2 separate regions of the Homo sapiens genome follow, and region 1 is linked to region 2. Evidence: promoter capture Hi-C in 16 types of primary human blood cells and fetal thymus (Javierre and others, 2016). All regions are on one chromosome and are shown on one strand. The core of a region is centred on a gene start or on the middle of the fragment in contact, and the rest is flanking DNA. Distances in the headings are between cores, read along the strand shown.

Evidence for each region. Contacts are between HindIII fragments. The CHiCAGO score rates a contact against its expected background, and 5 or more counts as called.
Region 1: a fragment that was not itself captured here is called in contact with the fragment with the promoter of SRRM3 in region 2 in 4 of 17 cell types (megakaryocytes, erythroblasts, M2 macrophages and 1 more); the score reaches 7.1 in megakaryocytes.

The regions. Positions count from the first base shown.
Region 1 is chr7:75,685,506-75,688,797 of GRCh38, reverse strand. All of the region lies in intron 1 of HIP1 (huntingtin interacting protein 1), which reads left to right. Among named protein-coding and RNA genes, the nearest start is that of HIP1, 52 kb to the left of the region's middle. The HindIII fragment of the contact is 1,652 bases long and covers 791-2,442 here.
Region 2 is chr7:76,200,646-76,203,561 of GRCh38, reverse strand. It overlaps SRRM3 (serine/arginine repetitive matrix 3), which reads right to left and starts at 1,666. Exons shown (of 15, transcript NM_001110199.3): 1 at 1,495-1,666. RefSeq lists a silencer at 1,580-1,819. The HindIII fragment of the contact is 9,812 bases long and covers 1-2,916 here.

The DNA of each region.
Region 1 (3,292 bases), core at 367-2,866, 510 kb after region 2:
CCACTCTCTGCTGCTGGTTCCTGGGGAGGCTCTGGAATTTGAAGCTGGCTGTTGGGGGGCAGAGCTGGGAGGCCCGTGCAAACAACCTCCCACCTGCTGGTTTGGTGCAGCTGTCCCGGGAGAGGACCAAAGGCCACCGAGGGAGGGAGGAAGGGAGTAGGCAGCTGCTGGTGGTGGGCTCGGGGCCAGACCCGGACGGCGGGTGGAGGGTGTGCGTGGGGGGCCTGACAGGTGGGGCTTTGTGTCCTGGATGCCCAAGCAGATCTCCCCTTAGTGCGGCTTCCTGTCAGCCGGGCTGCACTTGTGCGCTTGGCTGCCTGCCCGTCCCCCACCCGTCGAGGGGCTCCACCGACAGCTCATCCCCCCCACCCCCTGCAGACGCAGCATGATGGACTCCCCTGGGAGCCCGGACCCGGCGCGCCCCCGGCCGTTCTTCCTTGGCTCTCATTGTAGGGCTGAGGGACTTCTGCGTGTGTGGTGAGGAGTCTCCCTTTCCCTCCACCCAACAGCTCTGCAAGCTCCTGCCCTGCCCCAGGGGAGGAACCCCTGGTGGCTTCACAAGGGCGGTCCCACCTCCCGGATTGTGGCCCACGGAGGGGTGTTGGTGGTGTGGGCAGGTGCTGTGTTGCATCCAGGATGAGGGAAGAACCACAGTCTTTGCCCTCAGTTTAGTGGAGGAGAGAGACTCCTAACTAACAAGTAGACTGAGTTTAGTGGCTGAGGTGTGGAGGGGATGGTAAGTGGCCTTCAGGGGGACAGGAGGCCTCTTTCTAGTTGGGGAGGATAAGCTTACAAAAGTGGTACCACATGGGCTAGCCTGGAAGAACTCTTACAGCCCAGGACTCAAGAGAGAAAATCCAGCGCTCCAGAGAGAAAATTCAGCAGTGAAAACATCACATGGAAAGGCCTGGAGGCATGGGAGACAGCCAGGTTCTGGGAACACGGAGGGTTCAGGAGTAGGGGCTGGGAAGAGAGGAAGGCACCATGGAAAGGAGGCTGGGAAGGAAGGTTGGGCCCAGCTTGTGGGTCATAAGAGACTTTAAAGGTGGAGAGACTGGCAAGAGCCAGATGAGTTTTTTGTTTGATTGTTTTGTTTTGTTTTGTTTGAGACGGAGTTCCGCTCTTGTCTCCCAGGCTGGAGTGCAATGGCGCCATCTCGGCTCACTGCAACCTCTGCCTCCTGGGTTCAAGCAATACTCCTGCCTCAGCCTCCCATGTAGCTGGGATTACAGGTGCCCGCCACCAAGCCTGGCTAATTTTGTATTCTTAGTAGAGATGGGGTTTCGCCATGTTGCCAAGGCTGGTCTCGAACTCCTGACCTCAGGTGATCCTCCCGCCTTGGCCTCCCAAAGTGATGAGATTACAGGCATGAGCCACCGTGCCCGGCCCAGATGTGTTTTAGAAAAATAGATATTCACAGCAGGATAAAGAAGAGGTGGCAACAAGAGAGACCAGCAAGGAGATAAACTGGGAAGTTATTGTAAAAAGTTCAGACATGAGAAAGGTACTGGGGGCCAGCCACAGGGATTGGCTCCTGCTTCTGGGAGGTGCCTCTAGACTCCTGGAGGGAAGGCCAGGGGCTGCCTGAGACTTTCGGTAACAGCCTCAGAGTGGTCGAGGATTCGACCCAAGTTCCACTACCTTTCATTAGGGATGTTTTGTAAACTGTCAAGTGCTGTACAAATGTCCATTTGTTTCTCTTTTCTCCTTAATGAACTTCAGAGACCAGAACAGAAAATCCTGCTGCCACAAATACCAGAAATGCTCGATAAAGAAAACAAATTTCCTTTTAGACACATAGCAAAGCTCATCAGGCTGGGAGTAGTGGCTCATGCCTGGAATCCCAGCACTTTGGGAGGCTGAGGGTGGAGGATCATTTGAGTCCAGGAATTTGAAGCCAGCCTGGGCAACATACAAGACCCTGTACCTACAAAAAAAAAAAAAAAAAAAAAAAGAACTAAAATAATACCAGGTGTAGCAGCATGCACCTGCACTGTAGTCCCAGCCACTTGGGAGGCTAAGAGGGGAGGATGGCTTGAGCCCAGGAGGTCAAGGCTGCAGTGAGCCAGGATTGCACCAGTGCACTCCAGCCTGGACAAAAGAGTGAAACTCTGTCTCAAAAACAAACAACAACAAAAAAAAAATGAGAAAAGAGAAGGAAAATAAATGGTCATCAGTTGATAAGAAAATCCCTCTCTCTCCTTCCTTATCTCCTTCCAGCATTTTCCAGGGCCCTTCCCAAATACCAAATAAGCTCCCTGCGCTGACATCCTTGTCTCAGAGTCTGCTTCCATGGGAACCCCAGCTAAGAGGAATTCTTCAATACATGACGCTAGAGCAACTGGTTCTGCACAGGGAGAAATAAAATTAGAATATTACTTTATGCCTTAACTACAAATAAATTCCGAGTGTATTAAAGGCCTAACTGCGAAAACCAAAGCTTTTAAACTTTTCAAAAAAAATACGAGAGAATATCTTTATGATCTTAGTTTCAATAGGGAAAAAAATTCTTAAGACACCAAAAGCATATAAATAAAGGAAGATGTTGATAAAATTGACAACCTTGTCAATAAAAGATGCCATTGTACATAAAAAGGCCACAGGCTGGGGCCGGGTGCAGTGGCTCACGCCTGTAATCCCGGTACTTTGGGAGGCCGAGGCAGGTGGATTACTTGAGGCCAGGAGTTCAAGACCAGCCTGGCCAAAAAACACTCTCTCTACTAAAAATACAAAAATTAGCCAGGTGTGGTGGCACACACCCGTAATCCCAGCTACTAGGGAGGCTGAGGCACAAGAATTGCTTGAGCCTGAGAAGTGGAGGTTGTAGTGAGCCAAGATCACGCCACTGTACTCCAGCCTAGGCGACAGAGACTCCGTCTCAAAACAGAACAACAACAACAAAAAAAGGCCACAGGCAGAATAAGCTATTTGTGGTAGAGAAAACTGACAGGCCGGGCGCAGTGGCTCATGCCTGTAATCCCAGCACTTTGGGAGGCCGAGGTGGGCAGATCACCTGAGGTCAGGAGTTCAAAACCAGCCTGGCCAACATGGGAAAAACCCGTCTCTACTAAAAATACAAAAATTAGCCGGGCGTGGTGGCGGGTGCCTGTAATCCCAGCTACGTGGGAGGCTGAGGCAGGAGAATTGCTTGAACCCAGGAGTTGGAGGCTGCAATGAGCTGAGATTGCACCATTGCACTCCAGCCTGGGCGACAAGAGCGAGACTTCGTCTCACAAAAAAGAAAACTGACAAAGAATTGGGAATCAGAATATATGAAGAACTAGCACAGAGC
Region 2 (2,916 bases), core at 417-2,916:
ACTATTCCACATTTATCCAGCTCTTCTTTAAGAAATTCTTACTTGTCTCCTATTTACTAACACTCACCCAGCATTTTATACCGTAAAAGTAGTCTCCCATCTCCTTATCCAGATTATTTCTTTCAACAGCAAAGTAGACATTGCTAACACTACACCTGTTTTACAGATTGAAAACAGACTCAGAAAGGTCAATGGCTTACCTGAGGTCACATAACCTAGATTTGATCCCATGTCTTTCTGACATCAGAGTCCATGACTCCCAACCCACATACCCCTACCTCTTAAAACCCAGTTGACTCTTTAGTCAGTCTTCAAGAATACCTCCTCCACCCCACAGGAGAGTGGGATGGGGCATAAAGTTAAGGAACCAGAAAGCTACTGCTGTGTGGGAACAATTTCCTAGCCAGCTGGGTCCTATTTTTGACTGAGGAAGAAGCTGGCACAAACTGGGGCCATGACCTTAAGATGCTCCCTGGACAGAGGAACTTGTGCACGTCTCTCCGTCAAAGCCCAGCACCTGCCTTTTCTCTTGCCATGGGACAAAAGACCAGCTCAAGCCCCCGATGCTAGGGTGAGTGAGGTCTTAGGACAGCGAGAAGTTATGGCTGGGATAGGGCACAGGCATTGAAGTACCACGTCAGACCTTGGTACAACCTTCCCTTCCTCCCACTAAATCTCTCCCCACAATGGATCTGCTGTCAGGAGTAGGAACTGCAGGAGGCTTCAACACTGTCCAGGCAGGAGCCCTGGGAGGGAGGGGGAGGCGGAGGCAAGGCAGAGGCTGCGTCTTTTCTCAGCTCTCTTCTTTACCAGGAATTCACTCTGGCGCAGGTCTAACTCTGGGCTAGAAACTCTCTCTGGGCGTCCGTGGTTGGGGTGGGGGGTGTGCACAGAGAACCCCCTCCCAAATTCCTAGTAGCTATTTTCTCTTCTGTGTCCTCCATCCTCTTCCCAGTGCAAGAGTAAATGCCATCCTGTGAGACCCAGTTCTCCTTGCCAGCTCCTGCCTCCCTAGGGGCATTTGGGTAGCCGGGAAAGGGGCCAGGCTGTCCCCTGGGCCGGCACCTCCTGCTGGACAGAGGCCCAGCATCCAGGTGGGGGCCTGCTCCCTTCACCAGGGCCAGTGACCAGCATCTCCACAGGGTTACTGCATCGGTCCTCCCTTCCCTGGGGAGCAGGTCCTTCTCCTCAGTGGGACTGCGGTTGGGGGGCCTCCCTGGCACCCTCATGGACTAGGCCATGGTCATTTATGCCCAGGGGAGTCCTGCCCATGACCCCAAAGGTCTCCACTGTCTCCATCCCTCTCAGTGAAATGAATGTTCCTCATCTCTGCTCCCCGGGCGCCTGGCACCCCCGGACAGACGCCCTCGCCGACCTCCCACACTGCCCCTCTGCTCGGGGGAGCCTGCAGACCACGGGGGTGCTGGGGAGGCCCGAGCTTCCACCCAGCCCCAGCCCCTCGGGGATATGCCCCCGCCCCACAGGCGCTCTCACCTCACCGCTGACCGCCGCGATCTACCGGGCGCTGGGGCCAGGCCCTCGGGTCCCGCCGGTCCGGGCTGCCGCCTAGTCTGGGCTGAGTTGGGCAGGGCAGCTCCGCGGCCCCCACGGCCCCGCACCCTCTGCCTCCCCGCGGGTGCTGCCGCCGCTTGCTGAAATGCTGGACAGCGCACCGCCACCGAGGCGCCTCTCTGCTCGCCCGCCAGCCAGAGCGGCCCAGCCCCGCGCCCGCAGCGCCCTCCGCAGGCCTGGAGGAACGCCCGCAGCGGAGGCAACAGCCCGGGCGGCTGGGCCGGGCCGTCTCCCGGCCGGCTCCCCCTCCTCCCCGCCCCCTTCGCCCCCCTCCCCCCCTTCCCCTCGCCCCTCACCTCCCCACACCCCCGCCCCTATCCCCAGCCCCCGGGGACATCTGTTTCCCCCACTTGCGAGAGGAGGCATGTCAGCCCTGGAAGGCGCCTGGGGCAAGGGAGGTTATTAGTTTGGATCTGGGAAATGCAGTCGGTGTGCAGAGGCCTCGCCAGGACACTCTCTTCCCACCCAGTGTTAAAGAAGGCACCAGGGGCTGGGCGCGGTGGCTCACGCCTATAATCCCAGCACTTTGGGAGACTGAGGCGGGAGGATCACTTGAGGCCAGGAATTCGAGACCAGCCTGGCCAACATGGTGAAACCCAGTCTCTACTAAAAATACAAAAATTAGCCAGGCGTGGTCGCAGGCACCTGTAATCCCAACTACTCAGCTACTTGGGAGGCTGAGGCAGGAGAATCGCTTGAATCTGGGAGGCGGAGTTGCAGTGAGCCAAGATCGCACCATTGCACTCCAGACTGGGCGACAAGAGCAAGACTTAGGGTCAAAAATAAAATAAAATAAAATAAAATAAAAGGCACCAGGGAGGTGAGGTGGGAGGATCGCTGGAGCCCAGGAATTTGAGGCTGCAGTGACCTATGGTGGCGCCACTGCACTCCAGCCTGAATGACAGAGGCTGTCATTTTTTGACACCATCTCAAAAATTTAAAAAAAAAAAAAGGAGGGTGTAGTGTGAGAGACATCCTAATGGAGACAGGAGATTTTAAATTATTTTTTTAAATTTTAAAATTTTGGCTGGATGCAGTGGCTCACATCTGTAATCCTAACATTTTAGGAGGCTGAGGTGGGAAATCACTGAGCTCAGGAGTTTGAGACCAGCCAGGCCAACATGAGGAAACCCTGTCTCTATGAAAAATACAAAAATTTGCCAGATGTGGTGGCATGCATGCACCTGTGGTCCCAGCTACTTGGGAGGCTGAAGTGGGAGGAAGGCTTGAGCCTGAGAAGCGAAGGTTGCAGTGAACCAAGATTGCTCCATTGCACTCCATCCTAGGTGACAGAGCCTCAATTTGTCTCAAAAACAAAAACAAAACAAAAAAACAAAAACAACA